3 separate regions of the Homo sapiens genome follow, and regions 2 and 3 are each linked to region 1. The links are contacts of gene promoters, found by promoter capture Hi-C in human tissues and cell types (Jung and others, 2019). All regions are on one chromosome and are shown on one strand. The core of a region is centred on a gene start or on the middle of the fragment in contact, and the rest is flanking DNA. Distances in the headings are between cores, read along the strand shown. Region 1 holds the start of ANKRD29 (ankyrin repeat domain 29). Region 2 overlaps ANKRD29 (ankyrin repeat domain 29). Region 3 overlaps ANKRD29 (ankyrin repeat domain 29).

Region 1 (3,651 bases), core at 7-2,506:
ATTTAAAGTTGTTTTAAGCACAAAGTAATACAATTTATCCATGAAGGTTAAACATTTTAATTTTTATCATTAACTTTTATTTGTAATTGTTTTCTACCTTTTAAATTAAATATTCGTTACAAATTTAATTGAGAAGAGGGAAGGAGGGGGAGAATGAATGAGTGGATTCTTATAGTTTGAGGGGGTAAGACCTCCATTTTTATACTATTTTTTTGTTTTGTTTTTATTTTTATTTTTGAGGCAGAGTCTTGCTCTGTTGCCCAGGCTGGAGTGCAGTGACCGAATCTTGGCTCACTGCAGCCTCAACCTCCCAGGTTCAAGCGATCCTCCCACCTCAGCCTCCCGAGTAGCTGGGACTACAGGTGCGCACCACCACGCCTGGCTAATTTTTGTATTTTTAGTAGAGATAGAGTTTTGCCATGTTGGCCAGTCTGATCTCGAACTCCTGGACTCAAGTGATCTGCCCGCCTTTGGCCTCCCAAAGAGTTGGGATTATAGGCGTGAGCCACTATGCCTGGGCTACTTTTTTACTTTCACTTTTCTAAAATGCTCTCAAAGAGCTGTTGTTGCCGTTTATACTTAAAACTCCCAGTTTTACTTCGCCCAAACCAATCCTGGGCAGGCAGCAGGAGTGGACACACATACTGCAATACTCCAGGGCTGCAGCATCAGACCCAGAGGAGGAGGGAACTGCTGGATTAATAACGCGGAGGAGGAGGAGGGGTATGAGTCTATTCCAAAATTGGCCTTTGCCCTTCAAAGAGGAAAAGACCACTTATTGTTTGTGCAATCAAAAGGTTTGTTTCCTAGATATTTTCCCCAGGAGAAAAAAGTTTCCCAGGAAACCGAGAAAGAAATTATAACGAAAATAGCTATTGGATGAATTTTTTCCTCAAGCTTCATTTTTACATCATTATAATATTTGTGCTGTAATGAAGGTTGGGAGTCCTCTGGGGCAGACCAGTCTATTTGGGAGGATATGTATGGAGTTTGTGTGTGAGTACATGCGGGTGAGTGGGCGTGAGTGTGGAAAGTATGTGTGTGGAACCTCTGTGTGTGTGGAATGTGGAGCGTATGCACAATGTGTGTGGAGTTTGGAGTGTGTGTGTGGACGAGTGAGTGTGGAAGTGTGGACGTGTGTGGAAAGTGCACAGTGCGTGCGGAGTTTGGGGTGTTTGTGCACGCGCGTGTGTGGCAGGTCCTGGAGCGCGTCCACGCGACACCCCATGTGTAGTGTGCGCGCGCGCGCGCCCCCGCGCCGCCCCTTCGGCCCGGCCCTGTGTGCGGCGGCTGCTGCCGGGCCGGGCGGCGGGAGCGCGCGGCGTCGGAGGCCGCCCCTCTGCGGAACGCCGAGAGCCCCGGGAGAGTGAAGGGCCGGGGAGGACAAGGCGCCCCGGGCCCAAAGCGCGCCGGCTCCCGCTCGGGCGGCCGCGGACATGTGCAGGATGTCCTTCAAGGTGAGCGACCGGGACTCCGGGGTCAGGGCTGGGGCCGGGCTCGGGCGGCCGGGCCCGCGGGGTCGGGTGGGGTGGGATGGGGTGGGATGGGGTGGGCGCTGCCCGCTGCCCGCCGCCTCCTCCTTCCTCTCTCCTCCAGCTGCGGGCGAGGCCCGGGAGGAAGCGGCGGGGCTGGGTGCGCCCTGTGGGTTTGCGGTTTGCCTGCCTGCCCTGCCTGAGAGGCTTCGCACTCATGGCTGTGGATCGGCTGAGTCTGTGCCCGGCGACGGGGCGGCGGGGACTGTCGCCGGGTAACAGGTCGGGGGCGGGTAAGAAGCCTGGGGTCAGCGCTGTCCTGCAGCAGAAGGAGTCCCCGACCCTGACCCTCTGGGTCCTCATGCAGGAGTACCAGCTGCACCCACGGATGCCTCCTCCCCGGAGGGGTGGCCAGCACCCAGGGAGGCTTCAGGGTCCAAAGGTGTCTTGTCTCAAAAGAGTTGATTAAAGTCATTCCATCTAATCCCCACATTTTAGGATGAAAGAGGTTGATTTGCCTCGATTGAAAGGGTTTAATAAAAATAGCAGTTAAAATGTATTAAACAGTTCAAATGTGCCTGACTCTGAACCAAGGACATGGTGTGTATGGTCTCAACCCTGGGGGAGACCTGTGGGAGGTGCTCTTCGTGGCTCTTTTTTTTTTTTTTTTCAAATGAGAAAACTAAGATATAGAGAAATTAACTCACCCACGGTTTTGCAGCCAATAAGTTATGGTGTTAAGACTGAAACCCAAGTGTGTCTGACTCCTAAGCCACTGTAATCCCGTTGCCGACAATAGCTCATGTAAGCAGAGGAGTGACATGGCGAGATGTGCATGTTGCAAAGATCTCTGGCTAGGTTTGGAGAAGAGGGTTGGAGCTGGAAGATGTTGTCATCTTTTTAAGAAATGGTACTGGACCAGTGCATAGGTGGTGAGAATGGAACGAAGCAGACGAATGTGAATGACTTTAAAGTTTTTTTTCCTGAGACGGAGTTTTGCTCTTGTTGCCCAGGCTGGAGTGCAATGGTGTGATCTCAGCTCACTGCAACTTCCGCCTCCCGGGTTCAAGCTATTTCTCCTTCCTTACCCTCCAGAGTAGCTGGGATTACAGGCGTGCGCCACCATGCCCAGCTAATTTTTTCGTATTTTTAGTAGAGACGGGGTTCTGCCATGTTGGCGAGGCTGGTCTCGAACTCCTGACCTCAGGTGATCCACCCTCCTTGGCCTCCCAAAGTGCTGGGGTTAAAGGCGTGAGCCACTACGCCCGGCCGACTTTAAAAGTTTTAAATCGGCATAATTCAGTAGGGAAGGCAAGAGAGATAAAGATAAAACGTTTGGTTTGGGATAAATTTTGAGGATAGATGGGAATCCAAGCAGAGATGTTGATTAGACAGATATACTCTCCTCGATCCCAGGAGGCAAGTCTGGGCAGCAGCTAGAGATGAGATTTAGGAGTCAGCAGTGTTAAGTAGGCACCCATGGGAATGAACATGATTGCCCAGTGGAACCATATAAAGGTGGAAAATAAGAGGACTGAGGACAAAATCTTGAAGAAGATTTGAGAAAGAGCAGCCAGAGACGAATGAGAAAACTCAGAAGCATGTGCTGTCACTTACACCAAGCATCTCTAATCTTTCAACAAAGATGAAGAGGACCTTGATGTTTATTAATGCCACAGGGAAATCAAATAAACAAAGAATTGAAAAGTCCATTGGATTTAGTGACGGAATAGGCACTGGTGACCTTGCCAAGAGCACTTTCAGTGGTGTTAGGATCAGGAGCCAGATTGCAATAGCTTGAAAGAGAGTGGGTAGAATCCACAAGTGTGGAGAACTCTTTCAAGAAATTCTGCAAGAAACAGATTTTTGTTAGTTTGTTTGTTTGTTTGGACAAAGTCTTGCTCTTGTCACCCAGGCTAGAGTGCAGTGGCGCAATCTTGGCTCACTGCAACCTCTGCCTCTCGGGTTCAAGCGATTCTCCTGGCTCAGCCTCCTGAGTAGCTGGGATTACAGGTGCCTGACACCAAGCCCAGCTAATTTTTTGTAATTTTAGTAGAGACGGGGTTTCGCCATGTTGGCCAGCCTGGTCTCGAACTCCTGACCTCACGTGATCGCCCGCCTCAGCCTCCCAAAGTGCTGGGATTAGAGGCATGAGCCACGGCACCCAACCCAGAGATTC
Region 2 (3,617 bases), core at 358-2,857, 37 kb after region 1:
TTTTACTAAAATTAGTAAAAGGAATTGGTTATTTTTAGATTGCCTAAGTTTGATTTGGGGGCCATTATTGAAGATACCACTGTGAATTTAGAATGTGAGGTTATCAAGATTATCAAGTCTCTCTATTAGTACATCCTTCCAAAATAATTTCTGGCACTTTGAATTTTATTCTTTATATGCCTAAAGTACTGCTTGTAAAAAACCAAGTCGATATAAGAGATTATATTTCAAATGTTGCATGAGCCATGCCCACTTAAACCTAAAATGAGTCATGCCGTGATGTTGAAGCCAAGAAGTTAAAGAGTAAACCAACATTGCAGCAGTAGCCACAACACGCCATAGCTGTTTTTTCTTCCTCAAGAGTTAGGATAACCTGGTCAAAGTGGATGACCTAGTCTTTGAGTGCAGGGATCCACCCTCTGGTCAAGGAGCAAGTGCTACAACTTCTAAAGACTGCATCTAATGAAATTGTTTTGAATTATTTTGAGTTCAGCCCTAAAAGAATTGTTATTCAGGAAAAGGGTGTCTTATAAAATAAGAATTGCTTTGGGGAAAAAAGGCAATGGAATTTTTCCTTTTTACAGAGTACACTCACCCCATTGTGCCCTCAAATCATAATAATTTTTATTACCTACTGTGAGCTTATAATTAGAGGTTGTTATCTATCCAGGTCAGACTAGCTCAAGTTCCGTCTTCTCTGAAAGTGTAAACTCTGCATATTTATTATGTTCCAAGAAAACAGTGCCATGCCTGCACATGGCCTGCACATGGCCTACCTATATTCTATAGGTAGAGCATTTGGAAACCAATGTTTTATTCTGAAATCTCAGCTGACACATTGAGTCATTATTGGAAAATCCTTGAATTTACAAAATGAGGACAGGAATACCTGCCTGGTTTAATTTCCTAATACTTTTGGCTAAATCTGATTTGTAATTGTTGCACTGACATTCTATGAAGCCCTACCATTTTATTACGGTATCCTGTAACAGGATGTTGACAAAGTTACATTGAAATTACTCAGCTGACATTTGATATGAGCTTCAGGGAATCTGAACGGTAGTGGGATGACTTTTCTTTGTAACTCTATCACTGAGAACTAAATGAAGACCTTTTTAGTACTTTGGGATGAGGAATCATAATCCCAAATCTAGTCATAGCCAGACAGTAGGAAGACTATGTTCTTGATTTGAAACTTCAAAAAATATTTTCCTTCCATATTGTCCTAAGCCAAAAGGTCAAGAGTCACAGAGATCATTGAAATATAGATTTCACTCTAACAATTCATTTTCATTTCTTTCCACGTGTCCTCACCAAGTTGAGTTGCTATGAGTCAGACCTTTTTAATCACTAGCTGAGTGGCTATTTCTATTTTTCTATTAACCAAATGCCTCGACATATATTTTCCCAACTCCACTCACCCACCTTATTAAAACAATACTTTAATAGAATGCAAAGGTCTGATCCTGTTAACCCAGAGCTGAGGTTAGTCAGTTAACTCATCTCTATCTAGTCTTTTTCATGTGCTAAACAGTATTTCTTTGAAGGCTGGAGGAAAAGTCATCTAATAAAGTGCCATCTCCTAACAGAAGCCTTGACTTGTACACAGAGTAGCTGGACCCAGAAATTAAACGTTCTCCCAGGTCGGAAGCTTAGAGGGGTGAATCCATCAATGGCAGTGGGAGAAGGAGCCAAAAGATTAGCGTAGAATCCTGGGGGTTTGGAAATGGGAACAGACAGCCATAGGAAGTCCTTGCTGCTTGGCAAGGGCAGGGACTCTGTCTTGTTTCGTTTGCACATGGTACACACTCAGAAAAAGTGTATCGACTGCCAGAAGATCCCCATGGCTGGTGCAGAGCAGGTCTGGAAGCCTGCAGCATTTAGTGATCAGTGCCTGAGAGTTAGAAGAAGGCTCCAGATATAGGGCCCAGACTCATAAGCATAAGCCCCAGGAAGACTGTAAGAGGCAGCTAGGGAGCAGACCCAGATTTTTTGGGTGGAGAGCAGCTTGGAAATTATGGGGATATAGATATCTTAAAATGAAACAGAGGCCCCATTTTGCTTATTAACTGTGTGACCTTAGCAGGTTGCCTACTGTCCCTGAGTCTCAGTATTTTAGGACTACTGTGATAATTAAATAAAATAATCCCTGCAAAACTCTTAATGCAGTAGCTGATACACACCCAGTGCAATGTTAGGTATTGCTGTTATTATCATTCCTATTCCAACCAGGCCTCATTGGAACAGAAAACCCATCAGAAATCAAGGCTGCACTTTCTCTAGTGAGTCGTGTGTTCTCTGTCATCTCAAAGTCTCTTCATATCTCTGTTTCTCCCCACTCCTTTCTTTTTTTACCAGTTTTGTCTGCTTACTTATCTTGTATGTGGTCCCCAGGTTTATGGATCAGACTGCCAACCTCTGGGAATAGCCATGTCATTGTCACAGCTCATCTTTGTGCACCAGGCCACAGTGACTGGCTGGCCTGCCTATCCTCAGTCCCATCACCCTTGACTGGGGAGGATAGAGTCAGACCATGGGCAATGCAGCATCTGGTAAAATCTCTTACAGACCCATTTGCTGGGCCAGGCACACGGTGCAAGGGACAATCATAAGAAATAGGCTCCAGGGCAGGGTAGGGTGGGTAAGAAAATTATCTCAATATTGAACTCCCTCTGCCACGGGCAGGATTCCTCACAGCTCTTGGACTCCCAACTTCAAATAGAATTGGTCCCCAAGACTTTCTGACTGGCCTAACCCTGTAGGTAGAAGTAACCCAAGTGTGACGGCTGGAAATCGTAGAAGCAAAGAGCTAGTGCCGCTTCAGATACTCATTCCCACAGAAGAGGATGGTTTTAGTTCTTTTTTCCAAATACTCTCAGGAGCCTACATAAGACCATACAAGGTTAGTCTCTAATACAGGTTGTGTCATATACTCCATCTCATGCTGTGATCTGGCTGTAAAAGTGATCTCGAATGAAATGAGGGAATAACAGAGTTGGAGGAAACTATAAAACTCACTCTATTTAGCCATCCATCGGTACTCGAATCCTTTCTATGATAATCAGCTACTGTTGAACACCTCTAGGCATGGAGAACTCACTCCTCTCTGATCAGTTTCTTTGGTCTTAGCCAACACTCATTAAACTTTTATACATTGACCCCAAGTCTCCATGCAGCTTTCACCCATCTGTCTTCTTTCTATCACTTGGTCTGAAAAATTGGTCTAAATCCTTTTCTACTTGATATACACACACATAGTAAAAGACAGCTATCATAACCCCATGAATCTCATTCTTCTTCAGGCTAAATGTTCTATTACCTTTTTTTTTTTTTTTTTTTTTTTTTTTTTTTTTTGAGATGGAGTCTCACTCTGTCGCCCAGGCTGGAGTGCAGAGGCATGATCTTGGCTCACTGCAACATCTGCCTCCCGGGCTCAAGTGATTCTCCTGCCTCAGAATCCTGAGTTGCTGGGACTACAGGCATGCACCACCACACCCGGCTAACTTTTGTATTTTTAGTTGAGACAGAGTTTTGCCATATTGGCCAGGCTAGTCTCAAACTCCAGGCCTCAAGTGATTTGCCCCACCTCGGCCTCCCAAAGTGCTGGGATTACAGGT
Region 3 (3,521 bases), core at 349-2,848, 61 kb after region 1:
CAGATTAGCATCCAAGATGGAGTTGCATTAGCCTCCACAGTCCCTGTGCAGTTGTTTGAATTGCAAAGTGAACCTGCCACTTTTTTCATAGATCACTATTTTTACTTGAAAGAACAAGGTATCTACCACTATGACCTTAACAGCTTCCCAAAACTTAAAGGCTTTTCTGATGGATCAGTTTTTTTGTTTGTTTGTTTGTGAGATGGAGTCTCTCTCACTATCACTCAGGCTGGAGTGCAGTGGCGTGATCTCAGCTCACTGCAACCTCCGCCTCCCAGGTTCAAGGGATTCTCCTGCCTCAGCCTCCTGAGTAGCTGGGATTACAGGCATGTGCCACCACGCCCAGCTAATTTTTGTATTTTTAGTGGAGACAGGTTTTTGCCATATTGGCCAGGCTGGTCTTAAACTTGTGACCTCAGGTGATCCACTTGCCTTGGCCTCCCAAAGTGCTGGGATTACAGGCGTGAGCCACCACGCCCAGCCAGAATGTGAGTTTTTGATATTGCACAATGAAATGTGCCAACATTCTACAAACTCAGTGAACTGATATTTTCCAAATGAGCAGTGCATGTTACAAACCATGCATAGGTAAAAGATCCAACTATAAATAGATAAACCTGTGGGTTTTAAAGTTCATTGGTATGGTTTCAAATCCCACATTGCATTTAACCTTTAAGAAACTACCATTTGTTGAGTATTGATGTGGCATCAGAGAATAATATCCACAGCAATCCAAAAAGACTGTTAAAATACTCCTTCCTTTTCCAGCTACATATCTGTGTGAAGCTTAATTTTCTTTATATCCTTCTACCAAAACAGCATATCACAATAGACAGGATACAGATGGAGATATGAGAATCCAATTGTATTCTGTTAAGCTACACATGAAAGAAATATGTAAAGCTGTTGAGCAGTGCTACTCTTCTGAGAATTTTTACTTGTTTTTGAAAATTTAATTTTTCATAACTATATTAACTTGGATTTATTATTTTTAGTGAATTAATAAATATATTTTTAAAATTTTCTCAGTTTTAATTTCTTTTTTTTTTCTTTTTGAAAATATTTTCTTTCTAAATAATAGAGATGAGGTTTCACTATGTTGCCCAGGCTGGTCTCCAACTCCTGAGCTCAAGTGGTCCTCTCACCTCAGCCTCTCAAAGTGCTAGCATTACAGGTGTGAGCCACTGCGCATAGCCCTCAGCTTTCATTTTTAATAAGTTAAAAACAAAATTTGTTAGACTCTTCAGTAATTTTTGAGAGTATAAAGGGTCCTGAAACCAACAGGTTTGAGAGCCACTTCCACATCACACCTGTTGTCAATGGTAGGGACTGGTTCACTAGATGCCTAATGGATGTATCTCAGCAGCAATGTGAAAAGAAAGGCCTTCGAGTGATACTGAGTAAGGTGGAAGGTGTTAGCCACCAATGCTCTTCTTTCCCGGGTGTCTCTTATGCTCTGGAGGTTTCCTATCTCTGCCTTCTCATCAAAAGATATCTGGCCCGGGCGCGGTGGCTCACACCTGTAATCCCAGCACCTTGGGAGGCGGAGGCGGGCGGATCACTTGAGGTCAGGAGTTCAAGACCAGCCTGGCTAAATGGCGAAACCCCATCTCTACTAAAAATACAAAATTCAGCCGAGCATGGTGGCACATGCCTGTAGTCCCAGCCACTCGGGAGGCTGAGGCAGGAGAATTGCTTGAACCCAGGAGGCAGAGATTGCAGTGAGCCGAGGTCACACCACTGCACTCCAGCCTGGGTGACAAAGTGAGACTCCATCTCAAAAAACAAAAAAAAAGACACCTGTGCTGAGTCCTGACTCAGTCCCAAGTCCTTAGTGGGCAGACTACCTCATGTCATACATTAATAAATATAAGGTAGGCTGGGCACGGTGGCTGATGCCTGTAATCCCAACACTTTGGAAGCTGAGGCAGAAGGATCACTTAAACCGAGGAGTTCAAGACCAGCTGGGGCAACATGGCAAACCCCATCTCTGGAAATTAGCCGAGCATAGTGGTGCACATCTGTGGTCCCAGCTACTCGGGAGGCTGAGGTGGGAGGATCATTTGAGCTGGGGAGGTCAACGCTGCAGTGAGCCATGATTGCAACACTGCACTCCAGCCTGGGTGACAGAGCAAGACCCTGTCTCAAAAAATAATAATAATAAAATACATATAAGGTATAACATTTAATTTGACCGGTACTTATTGAGCACATTTTAGACATGCTGGGCATTGTGCTGGAGATAAGGATACAATGATTAATTAGATCTGGACCCTTCCCCCTAAGAGATTACAGTCTAGTAAGGGATCTGGCTGGAAAATGTCTCTAAGAATGAGATAAGGATATAACAAGTAATATTTATACATTTAAAGAAGATTTGTAATACCTTTATATAAAAGAGTGAGTCCAGTGTGGATTTTTTTCATTAGTGAAGGAGAAAGAGTGGGTCAAATGCCCCTCTTTGGAGTCCCTAAAACCACACCAGCTATGGGGATTCACTAATGCCCATCTTCTCTTCTTTCAGGCCAATGAACTTCCGGCAGAACTAACCAAAAATGAACGTATATTGCGTCTCCTGAGAAGTAAAGAAGGTCCCAGAAAGAGCTAACTTAGCTCCATATTTGACAGAAAGATAGAAAGCTTAACCACATTGTCCAAAAAGAAATTGCATTTCAAGCAGTGTTGGAAATTCTTTTATGAAAAAAAAAGATGCCCAGAATGCCCATCCTGTGGGTCCCTGACAAAGAAGAGCTACGCTCTGTGCACGAAGTCAAGAACCAAACAGCTCAGGGACCCTCTTGCCCCTTCACCATGGACTTCTCATGGTGTCCTGTAACTCATCTCCCGGGGGGCCTGGCATGTTCACAGATTCCACAGAAACTCATTTTCAACAATGCTAACTTGGACCTGTCAGTTAAACTCTAAGGTGGACAGGGTTCTCAGTACTAAGCAAGGAGACAGAATGCTTTGTTCCTTTAAAAGACTGAAAAGCTGACCTTCAATGGATTGAGGCACTTTTGCTTTTGTGTTAAATGTAGATGTGCTAAAATATATAGATCTATCATATTTTACCTACATATGTATGTCATTCCAGTATAAAACATTCTCCTCTACCCAAGAACCATAGCCATGATTGTTATAAATCAATGAAGTGTAAACATACATTATTAAAAAACCACTTCTGACATTCCATTATGTGCTATTCAAAGATGGACTATTGAACTATAGAAAAGACAGACTGTGCATTTGTTCGTTGATCCTCATCTTATTCCTGACATGTAAAAATCAATTTTACGTAGAGTCAACATTGTAGGTAGGTTAAAATACCAGTGGCAAATTTGGAAATTCAGAAACTTATAAACCACGAGAAATATATAGGCTTGTCTCTTTGGTCTTTTATTTTGGCTCTATTGTTGGGAATCTATTTCCTATTCTATAAGTAAGTATACCTAACATGCTGTGGAATCTTGAGTTTCCAACACCGTGCTGCTTGATAGAATGACTTTGAGGTCCTTGGATAA

Evidence for each region. The method cuts DNA at HindIII sites, captures the fragments that hold promoters and counts their contacts. A contact is called where the count stands out against the background at its distance.
Region 2: a contact is called between a fragment that was not itself captured here and the fragment with the promoter of ANKRD29 in region 1, in 1 of the 25 tissues and cell types used here (mesendoderm cells).
Region 3: a fragment that was not itself captured here is called in contact with the fragment with the promoter of ANKRD29 in region 1 in 1 of the 25 tissues and cell types used here (aorta).

What each region holds. Positions count from the first base shown.
Region 1 is chr18:23,660,516-23,664,166 of GRCh38, reverse strand. ANKRD29 (ankyrin repeat domain 29) reads left to right here and starts at 1,256. Exons shown (of 10, transcript NM_173505.4): 1 at 1,256-1,457. The coding sequence starts at 1,437. The HindIII fragment of the contact is 14,259 bases long and covers 1-3,651 here.
Region 2 is chr18:23,624,204-23,627,820 of GRCh38, reverse strand. All of the region lies in intron 6 of ANKRD29 (ankyrin repeat domain 29), which reads left to right. Among named protein-coding and RNA genes, the nearest start is that of ANKRD29, 37 kb to the left of the region's middle. The HindIII fragment of the contact is 9,770 bases long and covers 1-3,617 here.
Region 3 is chr18:23,600,313-23,603,833 of GRCh38, reverse strand. ANKRD29 (ankyrin repeat domain 29) reads left to right here. Exons shown (of 10, transcript NM_173505.4): 10 at 2,525-3,521. The coding sequence ends at 2,608. Among named protein-coding and RNA genes, the nearest start is that of NPC1, 16 kb to the right of the region's middle. The HindIII fragment of the contact is 5,934 bases long and covers 1-3,521 here.